Linked DNA regions of Homo sapiens: region 2 is linked to region 1. The links are contacts of gene promoters, found by promoter capture Hi-C in blood cells and fetal thymus (Javierre and others, 2016). All regions are on one chromosome and are shown on one strand. Each heading gives the region's core, a stretch centred on a gene start or on the middle of the fragment in contact. The rest is flanking DNA. Distances are from core to core; before and after follow the strand shown.

Region 1 (2,928 bases), core at 200-2,699:
GTGGAGAGCATGAACAGCAGCAGATTTGTCCTCAACGGAAAACAGCAGATCTTCTCCGTTTCAGAGGACTGCCTGGTCCTCAACGTCTATAGCCCAGCTGAGGTCCCCGCAGGGTCCGGTAGGCCGGTAGGCACCCCAGAGGGCCCTGTCCACCTGATCCAGCTCCACTATGCCTACCTGTCCCCTCCCCGTCCCTGTTTCCAAAGCACCCTAGCGGTCCTGAGACTGCCTGGGCTGGCAGGTGGGCAGCTAAGGTCTCAGGAGCTTGGGGGTCAGTGCCCCATGGCCACCTCTGCAGGTCATGGTATGGGTCCATGGAGGCGCTCTGATAACTGGCGCTGCCACCTCCTACGATGGATCAGCTCTGGCTGCCTATGGGGATGTGGTCGTGGTTACAGTCCAGTACCGCCTTGGGGTCCTTGGCTTCTTCAGGTGAGACGACAGGCATGGCCAGAGCACTGCCTGCACCGGGGAGAGGCCAGCTCACCAGAGCAACTGGGGATCTAGGTTGGGGTCCGGAACCTGAAGGGAGGGCCCCTTACCCATGATGTCTGAGGCAGAGAAGGGCACCCCCCAAGCCTCCACCCTGGGAGAGGGGTCCAGCCAAAGCCAGAATTATACAGTGAACTTGGTCCCTTGGGCAGAGGGCATTGATTCCTGGGCTGAAGCCCAGGTTCCAGCAGGATATGGGACAAAGAGCAACAGGCTGTGGAGATGCCAACCACGGCTCCCAGACAGGCCAGACCTGGGGAGCAGAGAAGGGTCTGGCATCCTGGTGGCTAATTCAAAGCAAACCTGCAGAGGCTGGCGAGGAGCCAGGCTGAACTAACCGTTGCCCCAACACTGCCCCCAGCACTGGAGATGAGCATGCACCTGGCAACCAGGGCTTCCTAGATGTGGTAGCTGCTTTGCGCTGGGTGCAAGAAAACATCGCCCCCTTCGGGGGTGACCTCAACTGTGTCACTGTCTTTGGTGGATCTGCCGGTGGGAGCATCATCTCTGGCCTGGTAAGTCACTATAGGGGGCTAGTGATGGTGGCCAGGAGGGCTCCGGTGGTCTCAGAACTCCCAGCTCCTCTGCCCTCCTCTGACAGCCACCTCCTCTCTCCAATGCACCCAGGTCCTGTCCCCAGTGGCTGCAGGGCTGTTCCACAGAGCCATCACACAGAGTGGGGTCATCACCACCCCAGGGATCATCGACTCTCACCCTTGGCCCCTAGCTCAGGTCTGTATTTCCTTCCCTCTCTTACTCTATGTGTGCCTCCCATACCCCACTCTGTGCTGGCCCTGGGGTCTCAGAGTAGCGGGGTTTGCTGGCAGGGAGCTCCCTGTTAGCAAAGAGAAGCCCAATAAGACGAAGGAGCATCAGAGGAAACAACTGCTGCATTCCAGCATATTGGCACTCAGGGAGGGCTTCCTGAAGGAAGCCACCCTGAAGCATATCATTGTTGGCCCTTTCTCCAGGGTGGGGTCTTCAGGAGCACCCCTCTCTGCCCCAGGCAGCATGGTGGAGGGGGTCTCCATTGCCAGCCACCTGCTGCCTGCGAGCTCTCCATTCAGGCTCCAGATCCCCACCCTAGATCCTCATTGTAAGGCCTTGTGAAGAAAATCCAGGGGAAGCCACAGTGGGAACTGCATCTGCAAAGGCTGCAGGTGTGGGAGAGAGTGACAGGTCCTGCAGGAGCAAGCTCGCAGGTTAGGGAACAGGGCAGGAAGTGAAGGTGCTGGAGAAGTGGGGGCCATGCCTGGGAATCTGGACTTTCTCCAGAGGGCAGGAAGAAGTTGGGCAATGACAAGGTTGAGCTACCTGGAGTAGAAGGTGGGTTGGAGGGAGCCGTCCTGAAGATCAAGACACCAGTGAAATGACCAGGGCAGAGTCCAGGAGAAAGAGACAGGATGGAATAGGGATAGAGCCATCGGGGAGAGAGGGGGCAAATGTGAGCAGGATTTGGAAGACTGGGTCAATTCCCTCACCTGGCCCCAGATGGTGGCCAAGGCAGTGTGGGCTGGGCATTTTAACCACTGTGTACAAGATGATTCTGGAACCTCTGCGTGGGCATGTTGACTCTTGTATGGACAACAGCATCCTCCTCTCAACCTCCCCATCCCATCCTCTCCCCATGGCCAGGAGAGATTTTCTCAACCACAGACTTGAGGTCATTCCCTGTCTCTCCTGTGTCCAAAGAAAAACACAGCTCAAGGCTGAGGTTGGCGGATCACAAAGTCAGGAGATCAAGGTGATCCTGGCTAACATGGTGAAACCCCATCTCTACTAAAAATACAAAAAATTAGCCGGGCATGGTGGCAGGTGCCTGTAGTCCCAGCTACTCAGGAGGCTGAGGCAGAAGAATGGTGTGAACCCGGGACGCAGAGCTTGCGGTGAGCCAAGATCATGCCACTGCACTCCAGCCTGGGCGACAGAGCGAGAGTCTGTCTCAAAAAAATAATAATAAAAGATAATGACACTATTCTTAGAGGGCAATGAGGACTCAGTGCCCCCATTCCCCCAGATAATAAAATTATGGTATAATAGGGGACGCAAGGGGGCCCTTGGGACCACCCAAGCTGACGGGCAGGGCAGGCTTCTCAGGAGTGGTGACAAGTCTGTGACCAGTCTCGAGGCCGATCTGTGACATCACATCCAGCTGTCCTACAGATGCACCCTCTCTGTGGGAGGCAGAAGGCTGCAAGGTGGGGCTGAGTGGCTGAGAGGGAGGCATGACTCTTTCATTTGTCCCCAGAAAATCGCAAACACCTTGGCCTGCAGCTCCAGCTCCCCGGCTGAGATGGTGCAGTGCCTTCAGCAGAAAGAAGGAGAAGAGCTGGTCCTTAGCAAGAAGCTGGTATGGCCACCCTTTTGGGGATGGTGCCGGGCAATGGCACAGAGGGGGTTCTATCCATCCCCTGCAGGAGCAGAGGGGCAGTCTAC
Region 2 (2,801 bases), core at 239-2,738, 430 kb after region 1:
ACGAACCCCAAGAGTCGTGCTGGCAAGTGGGGCTGTGGCTGAAACACACTTCATCATGTCTACACCTCAGACCTCCCCTGGCCACGCCCTGAACTTGGCCACACCAGCCCACATTCCCAGCGACCCTGTGCACTCAGCCCTGGCCTGCCACCCCCTGGGCCTTGTACCCCTGGCCATACCTTCAGCCCTCCATCCTCCATCTTCACACCCACAGCCACAGCCCTCGGCCACCAGCCCCCACATATATACTAACAAGCCTGCGCCAACCCCAGTAATACCCACAGTCCAGCACTAAAGTGCCCCCCACACCCACAGCCCTCCGCTGCAGACCCCTGGCCACACCCTGAGCCTACACAGCAGCCTTCTCCATCCCCACACCCGCAGCCCTGGGGCTGAGGCCCCTGGCCACAAACCTGCATCCCTTCCTGAGACCCCTGACCATAGCCTCAGCCACTCACCCCCTCCAATACCCGCAGCCCTTTATCAAGGCGCCCTGACCCTCAGCACCCCTTTGTCCACACACCCTCAGCCCTCTGGCCACACCCTCAGCCTGCACTGAAGGCCCCAGTCCACATCCACACACTAACATTATAAGACTCCCAGGTACTATGCGGAGATCCCCTGCGTAGAGACCTCCCCACCACATCCCCCTCCTCCACTGCCACCTCCTGACCACACCCTCGGTCTCAGCAACCATCTTCTAGCTCTGCCTTTTACACTAGGGCTTCCAGTGACCACGGCCTGGGCTCTGCCCGGCTGCCCCATCTTCCACCAAAAACTCCTCGCCAGTGACCACACTCCCATCCCTAAGTGGCAGTTTCTGGGACTGTGAGCACCGGTGGTTCCTACGTTACAGGGACCATAACCCCAGTCCACGCTGCACTCCCCTTCCCTTTCCCTGGGTGCAACCTCCCACCAGGGACCCCAAGACCCGCACTTGGTTCACCAAGGGTAACGTCCAGGGGAGCTTGGATGCCACAGGGTGCTTGGCCCAAGCACTGGGCGGATCCTGCGTGCAGTGCTCACTCCTGTCCGTGGAAAGATGGATTCTTGGTCATCTCAGCGCGGTCAGGTGGCGCTGGGTTGCAGGCCGCAGCCCCATGGGTCTGCAGGCCATGGATGGAGTGGCCACACCCGTGAACTGGAGCCACCCGTCCCGCTCCCACTGGGACAGCTGGAGTCATCAATCAGCCGGACCAGGAGGTGGGGGCTGCGAGGTGGAATGCTTGGGGCCAGGGCAGGGCCGCTCAGCTGGCTCCTCGGCTGGGACCGCCGGAGGTTGGGACCCTTTCCAGGCTGCTCCCCCCAACCCTCATCGTGCAGGATACTGATTGGGGTGGCGGGCATCTGGGTCTCCTATGGGCTTCTACCTCGCGGCTGCTCCTGAAGTGTGCGTTCGGAAGGACAGAACGACGCAGGAATGGACCGATGGACGCGGGAGACCAGGCGGCTCCGCAGCTCCGCTCCCTGCCGGCTCCCGGGTGGGACTGCAGCCCAGGCGGCTCCGCCGTATTATCCCCTGTTTCTCGGTCTCCATAGAGACGGCGAGTCCCACCCCCGAGGCTGTCTCGGCGGGAGAGTGACCAAGGTCACGCCGGCCCCGCCCACGAGGCCCCGCCCTCCCCGAGACTCTCCGGGAGCCGCATCCCGCCCCTCCCCCGCAACTCCGCGGTCCTCGCGACGGCGAGACCAGCGCTCTGCAGTTCGGGGCGTCTTCGGACGGCCCCCTGAGGAAACAGCCTCCCATCCTGGGATGTGCCTAAAGCTCTAAGCGGCCCCAATCTCCAGAAGAGATCCAGCTCCCCAGAGAGTCAACCAGAGGCCACTGGGGAGCTGCGCGGGGCATTGGTGGGGCTTGGGGAATCGGGAAGGAGCTCTCCCTCAGTGACAGGGGTATACGGTTGACTCAAGAGCACTGCCATCCACTGAACGGATGGCACCCCCAGGCCACAACTCCCGTGCTCTCTTGGGTAGGATTCAGAGCCTGGAGCAGTGGGGAAGAAGGGAGGGGACTCCCTACGAGCGAATCGCGCTCGCCCAGCCCCAGGATGCTGGCATTCGACGGCAGCCCTGCTGCCGGGGAAAAGCTGCGGGACCTCCTGGCTCGGCCCCCTCCTTTCGCCGCCACCTCCCCACGGCCTCGCAGCCTCAGCGCCCACTGCTGCTTTCGGAGCCCAAAGCCTGCTTTCTCTCGGCCTCCCAGTGCAAAGCCCATCTTTAAGAAAAATAACCTCCTCCAGGCCGCCTTCTAAGGCCTTTCCTAACCACGAGCCGCACGTGAGCACCTCCACAGGGCAGCCTGGGTGGCTACCTACTATACAGGGACCTCCTCCCCGCCCCCGGTCCACTGGCCAGGGTCGGGCTTCTGGATGGCCCGTGGCCCCTGCCATTAAGAAAGTAAGCGCGACGTCCGCAAAAGCATAAAAAAGTTTATTGGAGCATCACAGCCGGTGGGGCGGGTATTGCTGAGTCGTGGGGGAGGGAGGCCGATCCCGCCGGCCGTAGGGGCCCCTAAAGTGCACTCGGTGCGGCAAGGATGGGGTGTTGCATAGAGAGTCAGGCCGGCCGCTCTAACTCGGCCCTCCGGCCTCTCGGCCCAGCTAAGCCAGACCAGCCTCCCGGCCGCCCGGCGCCCTGGGCTCGCCGCTGCTCGGGCTCACGAAAACGGCGGGCGCACGCGCCTGCCGCGCCAGCGTGGGCTGTCGGCCCCGGCCCCGCGGGGCGGCCAGAGCGGCGCTGCCCAGGCGCGTCTGCGCCACTGGAATCTCGTCCACGGACTCTGCCGACGCCGAGTGGTAGGC

What was found. Contacts are between HindIII fragments. The CHiCAGO score rates a contact against its expected background, and 5 or more counts as called.
Region 2: a contact is called between the fragment with the promoter of TPPP3 here and a fragment that was not itself captured in region 1, in 3 of 17 cell types (naive B cells, total CD8 T cells and M1 macrophages). The highest score is 5.8, in naive B cells.

The regions. Positions count from the first base shown.
Region 1 is chr16:66,963,504-66,966,431 of GRCh38, forward strand. It overlaps CES3 (carboxylesterase 3), which reads left to right. Exons shown (of 13, transcript NM_024922.6): 3 at 1-126; 4 at 299-432; 5 at 854-1,007; 6 at 1,120-1,224; 7 at 2,741-2,842. Among named protein-coding and RNA genes, the nearest start is that of CES3, 3.7 kb to the left of the region's middle. RefSeq lists an enhancer at 235-1,152. The HindIII fragment of the contact is 7,346 bases long and covers 1-2,928 here.
Region 2 is chr16:67,392,010-67,394,810 of GRCh38, forward strand. TPPP3 (tubulin polymerization promoting protein family member 3) reads right to left here and starts at 1,489. Exons shown (of 4, transcript NM_015964.4): 1 at 1,371-1,489. ZDHHC1 (zDHHC palmitoyltransferase 1) reads right to left here. Exons shown (of 12, transcript NM_001323627.2): 12 at 2,143-2,801. The coding sequence ends at 2,601. The HindIII fragment of the contact is 5,780 bases long and covers 1-2,801 here.